3 separate regions of the Homo sapiens genome follow, and regions 2 and 3 are each linked to region 1. Evidence: promoter capture Hi-C in 16 types of primary human blood cells and fetal thymus (Javierre and others, 2016). All regions are on one chromosome and are shown on one strand. The core of a region is centred on a gene start or on the middle of the fragment in contact, and the rest is flanking DNA. Distances in the headings are between cores, read along the strand shown. Region 1 holds the start of PRRC1 (proline rich coiled-coil 1). Region 2 overlaps SLC12A2 (solute carrier family 12 member 2). Region 3 overlaps SLC12A2-DT (SLC12A2 divergent transcript).

The links. Contacts are between HindIII fragments. The CHiCAGO score rates a contact against its expected background, and 5 or more counts as called.
Region 2: a fragment that was not itself captured here is called in contact with the fragment with the promoter of PRRC1 in region 1 in 1 of 17 cell types (total B cells); the score reaches 7.2 in total B cells.
Region 3: a contact is called between a fragment that was not itself captured here and the fragment with the promoter of PRRC1 in region 1, in 6 of 17 cell types (non-activated CD4 T cells, fetal thymus, total B cells and 3 more). The highest score is 6.2, in non-activated CD4 T cells.

What each region holds. Positions count from the first base shown.
Region 1 is chr5:127,515,407-127,519,777 of GRCh38, reverse strand. PRRC1 (proline rich coiled-coil 1) reads right to left here and starts at 2,138. Exons shown (of 9, transcript NM_130809.5): 1 at 2,002-2,138. RefSeq lists an enhancer at 1,961-2,140 and a silencer at 2,201-2,270. The HindIII fragment of the contact is 4,735 bases long and covers 1,482-4,371 here.
Region 2 is chr5:128,174,327-128,178,697 of GRCh38, reverse strand. It overlaps SLC12A2 (solute carrier family 12 member 2), which reads right to left. Exons shown (of 27, transcript NM_001046.3): 20 at 4,032-4,157; 21 at 1,546-1,593; 22 at 9-131. Among named protein-coding and RNA genes, the nearest start is that of SLC12A2, 93 kb to the right of the region's middle. The HindIII fragment of the contact is 203 bases long and covers 2,270-2,472 here.
Region 3 is chr5:128,077,548-128,081,918 of GRCh38, reverse strand. The region is part of intron 1 of SLC12A2-DT (SLC12A2 divergent transcript); the gene reads left to right. Among named protein-coding and RNA genes, the nearest start is that of SLC12A2-DT, 3.4 kb to the left of the region's middle. The HindIII fragment of the contact is 1,526 bases long and covers 1,764-3,289 here.

The DNA of each region.
Region 1 (4,371 bases), core at 889-3,388:
GAGCTTAGCAACCACATAAATGTGGGTGTCATCAGTGTACTGATAGTCTAACGTCATGTTTTGAGATGAGATTACGTAAGAGAATACCAAGAGAAAAGAGAATATGATGTTAAACCAATTATTGGTTTAGTAAGATGGAAGACAAGTTTGCAGAGAATAAGAGATGAGCTAAAAGAAAGGAAGAAAACCAGGAGACTGTGGTGTCCAAAAGCCAGAGTTTCGCAGTATGAATGGGCAACAGTATTAATGCTGCAGAGAAGCCAAATAGGATACTATCTGAGAAGTTCAATGGATCTGCCAAACTGGAGATGAATTTAGGGAGAACGGTTTTCATATAAAGAGTGGAGAAAGATTCCAGTGTAAACTGAATCGAGCAGTGGCAGGTGAGACTAACACGCATGACACTTTCAAAAAGTTTGGCTGTGAACGTAGGAAAGATCTATGGCACTAAGCAGAGAACAGGGATCCGGGGAGGCTGAATCCTTTCATTCAGTACCTATACATCGAAGGTAAATAACCTGAGATAGAAATGCCCCTTTGGAGATTTTACCACTCCTCAACCAAAGCTCCCTCTTTTCTTCATTTAATTTTTTATTGGTCATTCACCCTCTACTACAGATGCTCCCCAATCCTTACAATGACTAGTAGAAGTCCTATTGTAAGAGAATCCCTAACATTAACAAATGTGTCTGCAAAAGAAACTGTACAATGAATACAAAGTCATTAAGTGGAATAAATAATCAATTTCTTTGTCTTTAATGGCTTTTTATATGAAAACTGCCGTAATGGCAATACTGAGGTAAATTTTACATGCATAAACATAGTGCCTTCTACTAAAAAAACCTATTATGATAAAACAATACTGAAGTGTCAGAGTTGGTAACTGTTTTAGGGCTCAAGTCTTGTCACGAAAAGTACTATTCATATATCAACACTAAAGAAAAAGTGAAGAAAATGGTTTGGAAAACTGAGTTCTCAGTCCGGCTAGACCCTGTTGTTCCAATTTGCTTGTGCCTTGGTTTTTCTGTTAAAAAAAAAAAAAAAAAGTGGATGTCTATTTACAAGTTTACAAGAAATGGAAGAGTGAAGCTCTGATAAACTTTAAAGCATTAAGAGCAATTATTGCTGACCTACTCGTGCCACAAGATTGTCTCTACTACCAAACAGTGAGCGCTAGTTAGAGCCTAATCTGACCCCGAAATAAAATTTTATAAATTTTCACTGAATTAAACACTGGCTGCACAGGAGAAAGACTGAATGCCAAGATGTGTCACGATCGCAGAAATGCACATGTTGTCTCTCAAAATAACTACTTCGAATGACAAAAACACTATTGGCTATAAATTCTGTCAATCTAGGAAACGTGCTATCTGCAAATTTGCCTGAAGCAGGTCCCAAGACCAAACAAAGAAACGAGAGAATGCAAAAACTCTCCCAAGCGGCGCTAAGCACCGATGGGGTAACCTCAGGGAAAATAAGCTTCCTTTCATTGCAGGTCCTGGTGTGATGACTCTCGAGCCTCCTGGGCCTCTCCAGGGCCAGAGCGGCCGAAATCCTGTTTCAGGAGACAGCGGCTTCCCCTCAGGCTCTGCCACGTCTCCAGGCCAGACAGGGCCGGGCTAAGGTCCGCCGGCGCTCCCGCCAGTCTCCCCTAAAGTCAGCGCCCTGGAAGGTGGGGCCAGAGCGCTCCTGCCTTGGTCCTTGGACAGGAGCAAAGTGTCGCGGGGCGAGACCCTCGAACCGCGCCCACCGTGCCATCCCCAGCGGAAACTGCTCACCTTGCGATGTGCACTCCTGCCTGCTGCACCCCGCACGCCGCCACAGCTGAGCCTGGACCACGGGACTAGGGGGCTCGCAAACGACATCGGCGTCCAGTGGCGCCGGCCGGCCCGCCCACCTTCCAGGGACACCGTCCCTCGGGGTCTGGCTCTGGCGCCTGCAAGCCATGCCATGCCATGCCACCCCCCTCATACACGCCCCTCGGAGCCACCTGGCGCTCACCTGGGGACCGGGAAAGTGCCTGCGTGGTCGCTGAAGAGTGTGGTATGATAGGGAGGTCGGGACGTAGAACTACAGCTTGGAGAAGACAACGAAGGCGCACCCTGGAAGTTACCTCGGCGTGTCCCCGCCTACAAGATGGCCACGGGCGGCGCATGCTCCTGCGGCTGCCACGTCGGCCGCGCGCCGCACCGCGCCGCGCGTCGCCGCCCCGCCCCGCTCCGCCCCGCATCGCATCGCCCCGCTCCGCCTCCGCATCGCCCCGCCCCCCCTGTCCCATGCGCTGTGAACCCGGCCGGGACGCTGCAAGTTAAACTTTGGAGCCAAGATCTTCCTAACTACCGAGACTTGGTTCTGCCCACACCCTCTAGAAACATCTTCCAAAGGGCTGGCCTCCTTTCTACTTCGCAGCCCCCTTACACGAGAGTGGCACTCTTGTTACCAGGCGTAGCTCACTCATCCTGTGCCACAGCGGCCCAAGGGATAAGATCAGTTAGCCAAGGTCATCTGGTTGGCGGTCATCTAGCCAACATCAGCTAGTCCAGTCAGCACCTCCAGGAAGGACCTCGCGGCAGATACAGGGGACTTAGCCTGTATAGTCAAAGATTTCCAGATAACAGTGATTATATCAGGAGAGAGGGATTAGGAGAAGAGGGAGAGGGGAGAAGAGTAGCAGTTACTGTACTGAATTTTTCCCCAAGTGCATGTATTGCACATTCTTTTTTTAATTGTAAAATAGACAGATTATCAACTTTCTTATTATATGCTGCACCTAACACAGTACCTGAAATAGTTGGTGTTCAATAATGTACATTAAATAAATTAATGGAGTGCGATAGAGGAAAATAAGGAACTTCAAATCAGAAGTCTTGATTTGAGTCTGAGACTACTCTAATGCCAGTTGTACAGTTGCCTGCCCTTGTACAGGTCACTTAGTCTCCATAAGTCTTCATATTTCTACCTGCAAACTGAGAATAATACTATCCACCATCCCTAAATCAGGCAGGTGACAGACTCAAATAAAATAGAGCATATGAAAATTTTTTAAACTTTTTGTCTTTTTGAGATGGTGTCTTGCCCTGTTGCCCAGGCTGGAGTGCAATGGCGCCATCTCGGCTCACTGCAACCTCTGCCTCCCGGGTTCAAACGATTCTCCTGCCTCAGCCTCCCGAGTAGCTGGGATTACAGGCACAGGCCACCACACCCAGCTAATTTTTGTACTTTTAGTAGAGACAGGGTTTCACCATTTTGGCCAGGCTGGTCTCGAACTCCTGACCTCGGCCCGCCTCGGCCTCCTAAAGTGCTGGGATTACAGGCGTGAGCCACCGCACCTGTCCGAAAACATTTTTTAAATTGCTTAGCATTAAATATATAAAAAATTGTTTTTGTTGTTCTCAATTTTTTTTCAGGAACTCACTTAGAGATTTCACATTAATCTATCTCTTGAGCTTCACAGTTGTAAGCATTCCAAAATACCTCACTGAAAAGTTAATACTATGTAGCAATACTCTGACTTCAGATCTCACTGTGCAACTACCATGGGCGGTTTTCTTTGGCGGTGGCTCCTATCCTCTAAGAATGTGTGTAGGTGGAGATCCAGGTTACTGTCCGGATCGTGCTGTTTGGGGTGGTGCTAAAGACAGATAACCATCTTCATCCTCTCTGATCAACACCCTTAATAGCTATAAGGTATGTTGGTTTCTCCATCCTTTCAGCAAATATTTATTAGTGGCTGCAATGTGCTGAGCATTGGTACTGGAAATGCAGTAACGAACAAGACAGACAAGGTCTTGATACCTAGGGAGCGTTCTTTATAATAGGAGAGAGGGTAGGAACAGGAAAATAAAGTAAGTACTGTTTGTGATGTGCAGTTTGAGGAGTCAACAAAGAGTGATGTAATATTGACAGTAATTGGAGTAGACCACTTCAGATAGGATGAATGGGCAAGGCTTCTCTGAATAGGTGAGATGTGAGCAGAGACGTGTAATGCAGCAGGCCTGTGCTTATCCGGACAGAAAGAAGGGCATGCAAAGACTTAAGGATGGAGTGTGCTCGGCATGTGCGCAGACAACAGGGAAGCAGGACTGTGAGAATGGTAAAGAAGACAGGACAGGGAGTGGGGCCAGATCGTGTCTAGCCTTGTAGGTCATGGGAAAGCCTTTGATTACACTCTGAGAGAAATGAGAAGCACGTGGAGGGTTTTGAGCAGAGAACTGACAATATTTGATATCAATTTCTGATCACACTCTGATTGCTGTGTGACTGCAGTCCATGTGAGGATGAGTGCAGGATGACCAGTAATGAGATGATGATGGCTTAGTGTCCCTAATGGAGGTGGAGGTGGCACACGGTCTGGATGTATTTTGAAGATGG
Region 2 (4,371 bases), core at 1,122-3,621, 660 kb before region 1:
AACCTTACCTCCATCATCAAAAAGCCACCAGACATCAATAGTATTCTTTCCTTGTTTTTTCTGAAACTGTGTACTAGCTTCAAGAAGCTTTTGGTCAGCTACATTTAAAGGCACAATAGGGCCTTTGGATTCTAAAGGATTAAGCAAAATATAAAATGTAAGCAAAGTAAATATTAAAGTCCCTTTTGCTGAATTCCTATCATTTCCTAATGTTTGTATATTCAGATGTTTATACTACAGATAATTCAGACAATTGTATACGGCATCTACCATAAACTTTCAGTTGTTTATAATAAAAGTATACTTTATAAATGGCTAGAGAGAAATAACTCTTTACAATAGCTAAACCAATCCAAATTATCTGCCTACTTACTAATATTTTCAAGCATTCTGAATGAATGTAAGAGAATCATAAATAACAATAAAAAAAATTACAGTGAGCTGCTAGATTTTGTTTTGAAAAGCTGTTTTAGTCAAACTGGACAAATCAAGTTTATACCTGTTCTGTGAAACTATTTCTTTGGTAATCTGGTATCTCAATAATTTAAAGCTCAAAACTTTTTAAAAGACAAAGTTGTTATCTGCAATATAAATGAAAGATGGGAGTTGAAGACATACTAACACATTCTTACAATTATCACAGTGAAACCTTAGTCTAAGGAAAGACTTCTCATTTTTACCTATGTTTTGTCCCCAATATGTGGCACCCAATTCTAAAGCCATATAACCACATCTTTCTCTGAACCACAGAAAGATGGTGGGAGCTCCTTCAAAGGGCACCCATCTGCTGCAGGTCTGAGAACAATACACCAAGGAGTTCCCATTTATATTCCCAGGAGTTAAAACAAAACAAAAAACAGCATTGATTCTGTGAGCAAGCAAATGACTATCATGAAACTCCTACACCAAAATTTTAAAAGCAGAAATCCATACGAGGACATCTGATCACTTCTGTAGAATGTCACTTTTCATGCTGCTGTGATATATGCAAACATGACAAATGATTTTGCACGATGAAATAATATGGCTACCAAACCACACTGCTCCATAACTCTCACCTCTATCTCCTTCTCATAAAATTCATGTATGTTGACATGACTGTGTATCTCCCAAACGCAGCACGACTGTGAGAAATATTGTAATTTTTGAAATGAAAAATACATTAGTATCAAAATTGAGGACTTGGCTGGGTACAACTGATGGTAAAGAATGCAAGTGACACTGCAAATAAAACCTATTTCAGTGTCCCTACTTATCATCTAAACCATGCAGTTTAAATTAAAAAAAATTAATACCGGCTGTCTGGGTCTAATATTTCAGAAATGCTGTGATAATAGAAAAGAATTTGTGATATAACTCCATTTCCTGAGAATATTTAACTTTTTAGTTAGACTAATAATAATTTTTCTAATCTGCATTTATAGAACTGTAACATTACCTCACCATGGAAATAAAAACCAAGGTTAAAAAAAAGGGAATAAGGTTGGAGTTAAAGAGTTTACAGTATGAAAAAGGGTTTAAAATAAAATGATGAAAAATGCCTGCCTTTTTTCAACAGTGGTTGAGTTGCAGTCTTGCCATCCTCTTCCTCAACTAGATTATGTTTAAAAAACACAAAAATATGTTAATTGCCTTTATATTAATAAAATAATAAAAATGTAATCAGAGCACATTTATAAACAAAATATAATATGAAGCAGCAGTCCACTGAAAAATAATCAAGACTGAAGATTAATATTTTCTGCACTGAGTGTTGAAGCTTTTAAAAAGCAAACATATTTGAGACCCCTCCCCTACAGGATGACTAACACCCCTAAATTTAATTTCTGTAAAATTACTTTTTAAATTTCAGCATATTTTTAAAATGTTTACACTTTCATACTTGAAATAAGTTGAGAAGATGTTGAACTGTGGCTTATAGGTATAAATATGACATTAAACATTGATATTGCAGATAATACATAAATTTTAAACATGCCATCACTGTGCAAATAACTGAACAGCAATTTTAGAAACATTTAATGGATATTTGTTGTTTGTAAAAAATTAATCACACTTGAAATATTAAGAAATTTGATCAGAGACATAAGTATTTTGCTTTATATAAAATGCCAGGTTATACAGGAGTGATTTTTCTCACATATATAAATTTATATATGTATGTATATACGTGTGCATTAATATTTATCCATTTATATTTAAAAATATCTACAAATATATCTGGCATTAACAATTTTCCTAATCTCATTTTGTTCCCTTAATACAAGCTTGTATTAAAATATTTGTTTATGGCATATAAAACTCTGGACTTAGGAAAGAGTATACTACAGTGGGCTCTGGAGTTAGGCTGCAAGATTGCAATCTTACCTCTACATTTATATTCCCAGGAGTTAAAACAGCTGAGTAAACTTTCATTACTGAACTTGCTTTTCTCATTTGTCGAAAGAGGTATTAGTACCTACCTCTTAAGCTTGTTATACTAATGCAAGTATTAATGCACTGAACTCTGGGCCTGGCAGAAAGTATTTGAAGGGTGTTCTTTTTGACTTCTTGCATGATGTATGCTTCAATAACCAAGATAGACACAGCTAAATACTGTGGATTTATAACAACTACACACTAATGTCTCTAATTCTGAAGACTTTTTAAAATGTATAAACGTTTCTATAGTATCTACACTGTTGACTGAGAATAACTGACTAAACAGAAAATAAACACAAAATAAAGCAAACACTAATTTCTTAAACTTGTAATGGAAAAAGAATCATTAGATTTAATATTATAGCATTCAATATTGTTCTTATAAAGCAGACATTTAATGGCATTTGTCTTTGATAATAAAAATTATAACTACGGATATGCTGCATTTGTTTAAAAGATCTCAGAAATGTCAAGGAAATCTTGACATTTAACAATTATAAAGTAAGTTAAAGGCATTTAGATTTTTACAATAAAAAGGTAAGTAGAAATGTACTGACCCAGTTTCCTGTTCTATAAAAATAATGATTTCATAAGATCGTAACATATATTAATTAGCTAATGTATGGGTAACATCCATTATAATGTTGGGTGCACGGAGTAGATGCTTGATATGTATTTCTTCTTACCCTCCCATTAAACTTCACCTATTAATTCCCAACAGATTCTGTAGAAAAAGAATGTTTGAAGCAAAAGAAAAAAACAAAAAAGAGGAAATGAAAGAATGTATAGTGTAAACTAAAATAAATGCTGGAATATAGGAACAGTTATCAGAATCAGTTTATAGAATTTTGAGGAAAAACAAAATAAATTATAATCAAGTCAGCAAAGAACTGAAAAGGAAAATGGGTGTGAACTAAACTTTACTAATACTCTAAGCCAACAAGGTAAATGAGAAGGAAAGAAATAAAAAGCAACATTACTGCTTCTAAATAATATAGAAGAGATAAACTGTACAGAGACATGATTGGTCCAAGGTTACAATTTCAGAAAAAGAATGGGAAATATTTTGCAGGAATCAAAAGTATGTTACAGTTTGATGATTCACAGCGCAGATTATTTTCTTGTTGCGTGTCAGCTGGGAATAGGACAGATGGAGATACTAGACTGAACAGAGGTAGGAGAGTGAGGGTGGGAGAGTAAGATTTGGAAGTCATCCCTCTTTTCTTCTCAAACATGACACAGATTTGTGGATGAAATTATGTGAAAGTCATGAGTTTGTTACTTTAAAATTACCATGTTCTTTCCAAATTCAGATTTAACTTATGCTTCAAATTAAAATGTTTTATTTAAAGCAACTATAAATAAAAACACAGAAGCCATATTAGTAAATAACTAGCATGGTTTCTGTTTGATGATCTACTCTAATACCTTACACAGCTAGTCATTTTGTAGCCATTTTTGAAAGCCATAAATTTTACCTGACCAGCTAGAAATGACCAGTACAAGTTTGAGAACAGGTTATTTTTATAAGACATATTATATAATTAAAAATATTTCTCCCAAATTAAAACATTACTATTAATAAGACTTATTGTTTGAATGAAAATTACCTTTGTGTGTAATTGGTTTTTCACTGAGTGGTTTGGAAGTATCTAAATCGGACTTTTTACTATATTCCACACTTACTACCACATCCTTGGTGCCAGGAGATTTCTCTTGTGATGACAATAATTCTTCTGTAGACAGAAAATTATTTAAAATAGTATCTAAGTCATATTTTAACTGTTAAATAAGGCATTATGGTTTAGTAATTAAACTATTATGAAAAAATAAGTTTATTATAAATGGCTTCTTATTTAAACAACTATGATAATCTGTTTGAAATGACTATTCATTTAAATACATAAACCACAACTAGGTTACAGGTTGAATATCCTGATCTGAAAGTCT
Region 3 (4,371 bases), core at 1,277-3,776, 560 kb before region 1:
TACTTGAACTTGACAACTTTTCAGGCTATTTTATTATCTCTATTTTTAAAGACGGTGAGAGGGGAAAACAGCTGTTGCATCAGGATTTTTAAAGCTCCTTTTGAGCTTTAGTAATAACCAGAGGAGGCCAGAAAAATGAGGTGGTCCTTTAAGCAGTGCAGTTTTCTACTAGGGAATTGCTGCATTAGTAGTTGATCCGTGCAGTACCTTTCAGCTCCACAACGAATTCTGCCACTATTGGAATTCAACATTCATTTAGTTGAATAAATACTGAACAGGTACTATGAGCTACTCTGTATTTACGGGATATAGCAGTGAGCAAAACGGACAATCCCATCTCTCATGGAGTTCTTTCTAGTGAGAAAGAGAAACAATAGACAAGATAAATAGGTAAAATACATAGCATCCAAGCAGTGAGTACTAAGGAAAGGGAAATGGGATATTTGTGTGAAATGAGGATCATAAAATTTTCCATAGGATGGCCTCACTGAGAAGGTGATATTTGAGTAAGGAAGTGAGTGATATGAGTTCTTGGGAAAAAAAGTGTCTGAAGCAGAGGGAAACCAAAGACCCAAAGGCAGGAGCATGCTTAGCATGCTCACGGAATTGCATGTAAGCCAGTTTGGCTGGAACTTGCTTAAGAGATGTGAAGAATCAAAGGCAATTACATCAGAGAGCTTAGGATATGGGATGTAGTAGATCAGAATGTTTAGGACCTTTTTTGGCTGTTAGACATACTTGACTTTTTTAGTAGAATAGTGTGTTAGTCAGCTCAGGCTGCCATAACAAAATACATAGATTGGGTGGCTCAAACAGTAGAAATATATTTTCTCACAGTTCTGCCTGCTGGAAGTCTGAGATCAGAATGCCAGCATGATCATGTTCGGGTTTTCTTTTTGGCTTGCAGACAGTACCTTCTCAATGTCTCCTCAGATGATAAAGAGAGCGTTGTCTCTTTTCTTATAAGGGCACCAGTTCTGTGGAATCAGGGCTTTACCCTGATCACCTCATTTAACCTTAATTATCTCCTTAAAAGGACTGTCTCCAATACAGTCACATAGGAGTGAGGAGAGGATTCGGGCTTCAACATATTAATTTAGCAGGGTACACAACAGTCCTTGGCAGATGGCAGGTTATTGGAAGGTTTCAGTGGAGGAATGACATCTGCCATTTTTAAAGGATTCATCTAGCTGTCTTGTAGGTAGGCAAGGGATAAATGGTTGGGTCAAAGAAGCAAGGAGATGTGTTAAGAGGTATTACAGCAATCCAGGAAGTGATGATAGCGCTTTGACCACAGTGGGTATCAGTGGAAATGGGGAAAAGTAGTTGAATTCTGGGGAAACAATAGAATTTGCTGATGGATGTGAAGTGTGAGAGTCCAAGGGTTTTGACCTCAGCAACTGGAAGAATAGTATTGCTATTTTCTGAGATGGCAAAGGAGGTTAAAGGAACAGGTTTGGGTTGGATGAATATCAGGAGCTTAGTCTGAGATGTCTGTTGGAAGAAACACACAAATGTGTATTAATAATAAATAGTAGTCACTCATATAAATTTGTAACTGCAAACAGAAGTTCTAGGGGATAGGAACGTAGTATAAGGAAAATGCAAAATAGGCCAGACTTAGTCAAGACAGAAGTGACTTTTTAGCAAAGGTCTAAAGGAAAATTAGGACCAAATTGTCACTAGAGGGTTTCCAACAAGGGAAATATTGTGGACAAATGCCCTCATGGAGTGAGCAGGGACTATCAAAGAAGCAAGAAGCTTGAAATCAGTTTGGTTAAAGCATAGGGAAGGATTGGGGGCAAAAGTAGTAAGAGATGTGTCTGTATTCTAAAAGCCCTATAAAAGCATTAATGGGTTTCTGGATAGATTGAGGGGCACATAATCAGATTTGTGCTTATTAAAACTCTCTAGGCCTGGCAAGGTGGCTCACACCTGTAATCCCAGCACTTGGGAGGCCAAGGCGGGTATATGGCTTGAGCTCAGGAATTCGAGACCAGCCTGGACAACAATAATGAAACCCCATCTCTACCAAAAAAACCCACAAAAATTCAAAAATTAGTGGGGCGTGGTGGCACGCACCTGTATTCCCAGCTCCCTGGGAGGCTGAGGTGGGAGGATCACTTGAGGTGGGGGTTGTAGTGAGCTATGATTGTGCCACAGCACCCAGCCTGGGCGACAGAGTGAGACACTGTCTCAAAAAATAAATAAATAAAAATAAAACTAGTTATATTATGAGCAGAAGAGTGGAGAAGAGGAAGAATAAGCATGGAAAGTCAGGACACAATTTCACTAATCTAGCTGTGAGTTGATAGTAGTAATAGTAGTTAGCCTTTATAGAGAATTTAGGTCCTGGATACTGTGCCAAAATCTATACATTCATAATCTTACTGAATTCTCGCAACACTATGAAGAAAATCATAAGATTACATCCATTTTACAGATGAAAAACTTGGTTAAGGAAAAAATAAGTAATTCCAACATTAATGAGCACATAAAAGACCTACAAAGGTCAGGAGGTGAGAAGAAAATCAGATGAAGGCATTTGAAAACAGGATCAGCTGTGTTAAATTGGGCCAAGAGGCAGAGAAAAATGAGTTGAATATATATTGACTTTAGTAACATGTATTAGCCAACAAAATGAGAGAGCAATGCAGTGAGGGGAGGGCCACAAACATTCCAGGAAATATCAAAGTGTATTATGTGAAACTTATGAAAAATTTATCAGGAGAGATCTCCTTTACTTAATTGTTGGCAAATATTTCATTGTCAGACTTACCAGGTGTCAGTTTAGAGACTAACCTTGAGAACAGACTTGCTATCAGTGCCGTGGTGGGAACCTGACTGATTTTGCTGTATTTCCTTTTTGCCACAAGGCCAGCCTTTGACATTGTGTGTGTCTGAGTACTTACTAATATTTATTTCATGTAGTTGGAATTTTAGGATTAGAAGTGACTTGCGTAGTTGTTTTCCAAACTTCTCAATTCACAAATGCCAAAGTATCCTAAAAGAAGATATAAATTATGTTAGACCTACAACTTCTCATATCTGCAGCATCAGAGCATGTGAAGTGCAAAGCCATGTAGAACCTTTGAAATCAGCTCTCTTTTCCTTTTTTTTCTTACAGTGAGTTTTAGTTAGACATGCTGTGCTGACATTCTGCATGGTTGTGGCTTTGCTGTTTTATTAGATGGCATTCAGAGTACAAATTGAGTAAATGGTATTTCCCTTGAGAAATAATGTGATTATTCTGTTACAGAAAAAAGAAAAAAGTTACCCTAAAGAAGCTTTTTTATAGGCCTAGCACAGTAGCTCATGCCTATAATCCCAGCACTTTGGGAGGCCGAGGCAGGCGGATCAGATGAGGCCAGGAGTTCGAGACCAGCCTGGCCAACATGGGGAAACCCTGTCTCTACTAAAAATACAAAAATTAGTTGGGTGTAGTGGTGCATGTCTGTAATCCCAGCTACTAGGGAGGCTGAGGCATGAGAATTGCTTGAACCCGGGAGGCAGAGGCCTCATTGAGCCGAGACTGCGGCACTATGCTGTAGCCTGTGCGACAGAGTGAGACTCTGTATCCAAAAAAAAAAAAAAAAGAAGAAGCTTGTTTTTTTTTGTAAGAAACAAAGCTTGTTTATGTAAAAAAAAAAACAAAAAACTTGTTATGTAGTAAATGTTATAATTTTGCTTTCTTACCTAAGTCCCGGTCACCTTCTTCTTTAATTAAAAATATTATAAAGATTTTAGTCAGTCATAGAATTAAACATTAATTGAAATTGTACTGTGCTTTTCCTCTAGACAATATATAAATTCATATTTGTAAATTATGTCTTTCAAAAGAGACAGCTCAAGTTTTTTGCTTACCCAGGTAGTAAATTCATGACAAATGCATTTAAAAAACAGTCTTTCTTTCTTATCCCTACTTTTGTCTACACATGTTTGTTGTAAAGCTATTCAAAGAAATCTTTTCCAATTTAAAATCTGTATTAGAAAAGTTATTTGTGATTACTTTTGTACTTCTAACTATACAGGCTGTGGATATTTGCAAACTTCAAAGTTCAAAATTGTTATCAAATATTAATATTTGAAGGAATTACTTGTATATAATAGCTTAGTGATTACACACATGGACTCCAGCACCAGACTGCCTGGATTTGAATCTCAGCTCCATCAGCTCCGCTATTTGTTGTGTGATCTTGGCTTAGTGTGACCTCTGTGCCTCAGTTTCCTAATCTATAAAATGGGGTATAACAATGGTAGCTTTTTTTTTTTTTAGACAGAGTCTCGCTCTGTCACCCAGTCTGGAGTGCAGTGGTAAGATCACAGCTCACTGCAGCCTTGATCTCCCAGGCTCAAGTGATCCTCCCACCT